Regions from separate parts of the Homo sapiens genome. Here region 2 is linked to region 1. The links are contacts of gene promoters, found by promoter capture Hi-C in human tissues and cell types (Jung and others, 2019). All regions are on one chromosome and are shown on one strand. The core of a region is centred on a gene start or on the middle of the fragment in contact, and the rest is flanking DNA. Distances in the headings are between cores, read along the strand shown. Region 1 holds the start of MBOAT4 (membrane bound ghrelin O-acyltransferase MBOAT4). Region 2 has its middle 58 kb from the start of MIR3148.

Region 1 (4,048 bases), core at 763-3,262:
CAGCTTTATATGCCATGCTTTTACATGCTTTATCTGATTTTCATAACAGTTCTGTTGAGATAGGCCTAATTATGTCTAGTTTTAAGGTGAAGCTTAGTCCCAGAGAGGTGATGTGACTTGCTCAAAGTTCCCCAATCAATAAGATTCTTTTGGATTTTCTTCTCTGTGCAGAGCAGTCTCTGATATGTTTGGGTCTATGTCCCCACCCAAATCTCATCCCCAGTTATAATCCCCATGTATTGAGGAAGGGAAGTGACTGGATTATGGGAACGGTTTCCCCATGCTGTTCTCGTGATCATTCTCACATGATAGTTCTCATGAGATCTGGTGGTTTTATAAATGGTGTTTTCTTCCTGCGCTCTTACTTCTCTTTCCTGTCACCTTGTAAAGAAGGTACTTGCTTCTCCTTTGCCTTCCACCATGACTGTAAGTTTCCAGAGGCCTCTCCAGCCATGCAGAACTGTGAGTCAATTAAACCTCTGTCCTTTATAAATTACCGGTCTCGGGTAGTTCTTTATAGCAGTGTGAAAACGGACGAATACAGTCTCTCACTAAAAGATGGTCCTTGCCCTGAAGATGCTCATGTCAGATTTTCCTGTCCTTTATTGACAACTTGCTCATGCAAGTGACTTTGGAGAGGGAAAACAACTGATCAGGGACAGCCCTGGAATGCCCTGGGCTCAGGAGATGGATCGCTACTAGCCAAGAGATGTCTTGCCTCTAGGAAGTCTCTTCTGTATTACTTGTCAAGAAAAGATTCTCTTGAAATGTTTCCCCTCTACACTTTGATATCCTCAAAACCTTTTTTTTTTTTTTCCAAGACGGAGTTTCACTCTTGTTGCCCAGGCTGGAGTGCAGCGGCATAATCTCAGCGCACTGCAACCTCTGCCCCCTGGGTTCAAGTGATTGTCCTGCCTCAGCCTCCTGAGTAGCTGGGATTACAGGTGTCCACCACCATGCCCAGCTAAATTTTTGCATTTTTCATAGAGACAGGGTTTCACATGTTGGCCAGGCTAGTCTTGAACTGCTGACCTCAGATGATCCACCCACCTCGCCTTCCCAAAGTGCTAGGATTACAGGCATGAGCCACCACAGCCAGCCTCCTCAAAATCTTTTAAACAAATATTTACTGGGTATATAGTATGTATTCAGCAGTGTTCTATGTGCTACGGATACAGTAATCAACAAAACAAAGTCTTTCCCTTGTAGAGCTCATGTTGTAAAGGGGGCAGGAAAATGAATTGAGAAATAGATACATAAGAGGTACTGATACGAAAAAAAGTAGCATAAGGAGGAGAGTTGTGGTGAGGAAGGGGAATCTTGGTTTTTGCCTTAAGAACCTGCCTCCAGCTGGGTGCAGTTCCTTATGCCTATAATCTCAGCACTTTGGGAGGCTGAGGCAGGAGGATCGCTTGACACCAGGAGTTTGAGATCAGCCTGGCCAACATGGCAAAACCCCATCTCTATAAAAAAAATATAAAAATTAGCTGGGCATGGTGGCACATGCCTATAGCCCCAGCTTCTCAGGAGGCTGAGGTGGGAGGATCACTTGAGCTGGGGAGATAGAGGTTGCAGTGAGCCAAGGTTGTGCCACTGCACTCCAGCCTGGGTGACAGAGCCAGACCCTATCTCAAAAAAAGAAAAAGAAAAGAACCTGCTTCCCTTCCTCCTGGTCACATTCTTGTTTCCCCTTTTCAGTCCACAGAGTTGTCTGTCCACAGTTGGGAAATGAGATTTTTCATTAACTTAGTGAAGAAAATACGACAGCATGATGACTGGAAAGGTAAATAGTATACTATGTCAATGAAACAAAACCACGCTTCCAAAAGCAATGTTTTTAGTGCATGTCATGATTAATGTTACACCAAAATGTGTTTTGGTTTCCATAGTGCAGTTCCTCAATCAGAAAGCCAGTTTTTATTCTGCTTATCTCCAGAGCTTTTGTTTGCCTTTTGCTCACCCTAGCCCCGCTAAACCAGATAAAAAGACCAGAGACAGCCTGGTTGAGATTACTCTTGGAGGAAGGCATCAGTTAAGGACACTGGAAAAGACAGGCTCTTTTGTTCTGGTTCCTAATGGAGTGGCTTTGGCTGTTCTTTCTCCATCCTATATCGTTTTACCAGGGGGCTGCATTTCCCTTTGCACTTCTCTTCAATTATCTCTGCATCATGGATTCATTCTCCACTCGTGCCAGGTAGGCTGGATGGCTATTTTTACTCTTACATCCAGAAATACTATAGTGACTGGGTGCGGTGGCTCACGCCCGTAATCCCTGCAATTTGGGAGGCTGAGGCGGGCAGATCACTTGAGGCCAGGGGTTTGAGAACTGCCTGGCCAACATAGCGAAACCCTGTCTCTAATGCAAATACAAAAAAAATTAGCTGGGCATGGTGGCTCATGCCTGTAGTTCCAGCTCCTCGGGAGGGAGGCAGGAGACCTGCTTAAGCCCAGGAGGTGGAGGTTGCAGTGAGCCGAGATGGCGCCATTGCACTCCAGCCTGGGCAACGGAGCAAGCCTCTATCTAAAAAAAAAAAAAATTCAGAAATACTATAGTAGGGCAAAAAGCAGAGTAGACTGCAGATGTGAAGATTACAATATATTAATTACACTTGTTTTTAACTTACTCTCACTGTCACTGATTATTGATATTTGATAATGAATATATATAACAGAGTAAAACTAAACTGGAAATTCACATCCTTCCTGCACTGATGTAAGGTTTGCTGGGTTCAGGTTAAATGGCAGATGAGTGAAAATAAACTCTCAGGAGAGATGGTTGTTGCGATGGTACAGGAATTCTCCAAATGGATACATCTCTGTCAACCATGGATCTCAGATATTCTTGAATAGTCCTAATTTTATGGAATTTTATCATTTTCAATCAAATTAAATTTTATATAAAGTTACATCAGTATAAGTTTTATTATAACTAAATGTGATTTTTAAAGTGCCTTTATATGAATTCTCAGAGAAATGAAATAAGTCAAAATGAATCTTGTTAGATTAGCTATATGATAATTTGAAGTTCAAAAATTATCACTAGAGATGTGATGACTTGATTGTAATGATTTTTTAAATATCAAATAACCTCAACACATTAGAGACAGCACCTATTTTTTTAGATTGCTCATATAAGATTTTATGTTTTTAACATAGTCAAAAGGCAAGAACTTAACTGAACATAGAACAGAAATGGTGAGTGTACTGTTAACATGGCTACATGATTTTCTGTTAAATTGAAAAGTCGCAAATACATTTTTTATTTTATTTATTTTTATATATATATATATATATATATATATATATATATTTTTTTTTTTTTTTTTTTTGAGACGGAGTCTCGCTCTGTCGCCCAGGCTGGAGTGCAGTGGCACGATCTCGGCTCACTGCAACCTCCACCTCCTGGATTCAAGGGATTCTCCTGCCTCAGCCTCCCCAGTACCTGGGACTATAGGTGCACACCACCATGCCCAGCTAATTTGAAATACATTTTTAAAAATAATTCCAATTTTTATTTTAGATTCAAGGGGTACATGTGTAGGTTTGTTACGTGGGTATATTGTATGATGCTGAGGGTTGGGGTATGATTGATCCCATCACCCAGGTAGTGAGCACAGTACCCAAGAGTTAGTTTTTCAACCCTTTTTCCCTGACAGTCCCTATTTTTAACAAGGTTTTGTGGAATGTCCTTTTGTAAAGTGAAAATCTGTTGCCAAAGGGCCACTTCCTAATAATTCACTTATTTTGGGAATTAGGATTTTTATATATTGGGATTCTTAAATAAAATATAGCTGTATCTAACGATCAGTTAGGATTGTGGAATTTGATTAAACAATGGTATGATCAAGTGTTCACAACTGTCTCATGGCCCTTAACTTCACTAATGGAGATTGGAGTTGGGGGACAGCTGTAAAGAAGTTTCCTTTTGAGAAAGATTCTCAAAACAATAAAGCAACATGAGTGCAAAAATAAGGATTAATCCTCATGGAGTTACCTTAGGGTGAAGATTGCTCAGTTTCTGGCTGGATGCAGTGGCTCACACCTGTAA
Region 2 (3,899 bases), core at 364-2,863, 130 kb after region 1:
CTTGACCAAGTTCCTACTCTGTTAAGTCTGTGTGGCTTTCATGGGCTGCAGCTAAGAAATCCGGGGTCATTTTATTTATTTTTGTCTGTTTTTGTTTTGGTCAATTGTATCTATCTTTGAGATTGGGCCTCAGGGACAATATCTCTACTGAAATAAGTAATGGTGTTTACTTCTGTCTGTGTAATAGCCCATAGAACAAGCCTAAGCTCACATGTGTACAAAAGCATATCTACAGCAAATCCATTCTGCAAGTTTCAGGCCCATGAGAACAAGGTATTTCTATGCAGTTTCTATGCAGTTGAGGCAGGACAGTCTCATCTAATCTTTGACCAAAGAGTAGTTTATTTGAAATCCCATTATTGCCACCAGTGATAAAGGTGTGGTGTCAAGAATGCAATCCCAACTCTAGGAGGGGAGTTGTCACCTATGTTTCCCTCCCTGTAGGGAGGCCTTCAGGCTGGGCAGCAGGTTGTGACATATAGCTGGGAATCCAACTGTGTGCATTTGGATATTGACCAGAGAGAGAATCAAGACTGACTTAGAGATCATGATTGACAATTTATAGATTCCTGGGCTCAGGGAGTGATATGGTTTGGCTGTGTCCCCACCCAAATCTCATCTAGAATTGTAATAATCCCCACATGTCAAGGCTGGGGCCTGGTGGAGATAACTGAATCATGGGGGTGGTTTCCCCCATACTGTTCTTGTGGTAGTGAATAAATCTCACGAGATCTGTTGGTTTTATAAAGGGGAGTTCCCCGCACAAGCTCTCTTGCCTGCTGCTGTGTAAGATGTGACTGCTCCTCCCTTGCTAGCTGCCATAATTGTGAGGCCTCTCCTGCCATGTGGAACTGTGAGTCCCTTAAATCTCTTTCCCTTATAAATTACCCAGTTTCAGGTATGTCTTTATTAGCAGTGTGAGAACAGACTAGTACAGGGAAGGGCAAGTGTTGAAAGTTTCAGAGTGGAGTACAAGTTCCCTGATCACTGAGGCTCTTCAAAATCAGCCACTTTTCAGTTCATACTAGATTGAAACCATATCTGAGGGTAACCCATTTAATAATGACATTATTTCACCCTTTCAGCTTCGGCAAGTCACTTAAATTTGTTGAATCTCAACTTCATCATATGTAAAAGTAAAGAGTATCTTCCAGTCCCCACTTCTGGGATCTCATTTCTCTAGCAGACTGCACTGATTCTCATTATTCTTTGTTGCTTTCAGCATTCTCCACCAGATGGCTCCAGTCTCTCAGTGTAAACCCACGCCCACAGCTTCCTTTGGAGCCCGGCTTGCTTTTGTGGATTCCTCCCCTCTGCACACTCAACTTCTACTCTTCTCCAAGTTTTTAAACAAAACACTTCATATGTTTGAAAGCATTTTCTTCCTCCTGTCTTCCATAGCACATTACTCTCCTCATTTCAACCATAGATCAACCATTTATTTTAATTCATTTTTGATGACACAAAGCTAGTCTGTACCACAACCCCTATTGTGGACTGTGGCCAGGGGTCACACTCCAATGCGGGCCCATTGGTGCAGTTAAAAATGGGACAGGAAATTCCTGTGAAAGTCAATGAACTGAGATTCTGGGCTCTTTTGTCTTGGTAGGTTCCTTACTCTATTTGACCTGCTGAAGCCATTAAATTTTTGGGGGCTGTAAAGAATTTTAGGAAGGCAACTGGGATGAGTCTACTCATCCATATTTTTCTTTTTGTTTTTTTTTAAGAGCTGGGGGGTCTTGCTGTATTGCCCAGGCTGATCTCAAACGCCTGGCCTGTCGAGACCAGCTAGGTTGTGGAGACCCTAACCCAGTGGCACTAGAGGAATTAAAGATACACACACAGAAATATAGAGTGTGGAGTGGGAAATCAGGGGACTCACAGCCTTCAGAGCTGAGAGCCCTGAACAGAGTTTGACCCACATATTTATTGACAGCAAGCCAGTGATAAGCATTATTGCTATAGATTACAGATTAACTAAAAGTATTCCTTATGGGAAACAAAGGGATGGGCCGAAACAAAGGGATGGGCTCTGGCTAGTTATCTGCAGCAGGAACATGTCCTTAAGGCACAGATTGCTCATGCTATTGTTTGTGGCTTAGGAACGCCTTTAAGCAGTTTTCCTCCCTGGGTGGGCCAGGTGTTCCTTGCCTGGTAAGGTAAGGAACACACAACCCAGTAAACCCACAACCTTCAGTAAGGGTGTCATGGCTATCATGAACATGTCACAGTGCTGCAGAGATTTTGTTTATGGCCAGTTTTGGGGCCAGTTTATGGCCAGATTTGGGGGCCTGTTCCCAACACTGGCCTCAAGTGATCCTCCTGCCTTGGCCTCCCCAAAGCACTGGGATTACAGGCTTACAGACATGAGCTGCCACACCCTGCTGTGTATATTATTTTCTTTTTCTTTTTTGAAACAGTCTCACTCTCACCCAGGCTGGAGTGCAGTGGCATGATCTCGGCTCATTGCAACCTCCACCTCCTGGGTTGGGGAAATTTTCCTCCCTTAGCCTCCTGAGTAGCTGGGATTACAAGTGTGAGCCACCATGCCTGGCTAATTTTTGTAATTTTAGTAGAGATGGGGTTTCGCCATGTTGGCCAGCCTGGTCTTGAACTCCTGGCCTCAAGCAATCCTCCTGCCTCAGCCTCCCAAAGTGCTGGGATCACAGGCATGAGTCACCATGCCAAGCCTGTGTATATTATTTTCATTGCTCATTTGCTAGTTGGGTAGCAAACAAAAGTGAAAGCAACCTTAAGCCAAGTCTGAATGATCAGTCTGAAAATTATTGAATTCAGATCAGCTTTGTGATCTTGTCCAGCTCAGTCCCTTATCAACTGTATTCCTGCAAAATAATATTGACATCATAGAGATATTTGTATATATATGTGTGTATAATGGGTAATTGAAACATTAACCTGAGTTTTCTTCTTGTAGACTCAGCTAGAAAGAACCAAGGACGCTTTTCCATTTTCCATCTCTGAGATATGCTGCTTTTGAAGATCTAGGGCCATTCAGCATGGGGTTTGTTGGCAAAATAATGTTTGATAGTATAAGAAAAGGAGGAGGTTTCAGTCTTGGCATATTAAGTTACTCATTCAACAGATACTTGTCCCTAGCTTGTGCCAGGCACTTTTCTAGGCATTGGATATATATCAGCAAATAGGATTGGAAAGGATCCAGCTCTCACAGAATTTGTGTTCTTCTGAAGAACACAGTAAACCAACACATAGTCCACAAATCAGATTGCTTCAGCTAGTGATCAGTATTGTGAAGAAAATACGACAGGGCTGTGAGACATAGAATGCCAGGAGGTGTTATCTAAGCCGAGGGCTGCAAGGGCCGGGGAGTTAGTGGCTATATCGCCCAGGACTAGGAGGAGTGTGTGTTTCGTAAACAGTGCAGAGCTGACCTCCCTTGAATCCAACATCTCAGGGATGGAAAGACATCCAAAGGCAATGACTGCTGGGCTGTCTGAGTCTTGGTTATTAAGGGACATTCCTTTGTGGCTGAACTTGGCGTGGAGGGAATACAACTGCCTGCCATGGAACACATGCAGCACACACCCTGGACTAGGAGCAAGCAGTGCACATCATCTTGGGGGCAATGAGCAGGTCCTCCTCCTTTGTTTTTTTGGATCATGTAAAGCCTATGGGTTCTTATGCTTATGGAAAGGAGAAATAACTCCCCCAAATGACAGACATGAAACTTTTCATCACCTTTGGAAAGTAGGGTCTCATTAGATTCAATCTGACTAAAAAAATTAAGGAGGCATTTCTTGTATCCCCAGTGTCACAGAGTGGCATGTTACACATATATTTTTGATAGTTGCCTGCCTTGTTTTTCCTATTAGAAAGTAGGTGCCTTAAGGTCAGGCACTTGACTTCATACACAGAAATTT

What was found. Contacts are between HindIII fragments. The study calls those that stand out against the background at their distance.
Region 2: a fragment that was not itself captured here is called in contact with the fragment with the promoter of MBOAT4 in region 1 in 1 of the 25 tissues and cell types used here (spleen).

Annotation. Positions count from the first base shown.
Region 1 is chr8:30,142,629-30,146,676 of GRCh38, reverse strand. MBOAT4 (membrane bound ghrelin O-acyltransferase MBOAT4) reads left to right here and starts at 2,012. Exons shown (of 3, transcript NM_001100916.2): 1 at 2,012-2,194. The coding sequence starts at 2,076. The HindIII fragment of the contact is 8,892 bases long and covers 1-4,048 here.
Region 2 is chr8:30,013,600-30,017,498 of GRCh38, reverse strand. No RefSeq gene overlaps it. Among named protein-coding and RNA genes, the nearest start is that of MIR3148, 58 kb to the right of the region's middle. The HindIII fragment of the contact is 9,883 bases long and covers 1-3,899 here.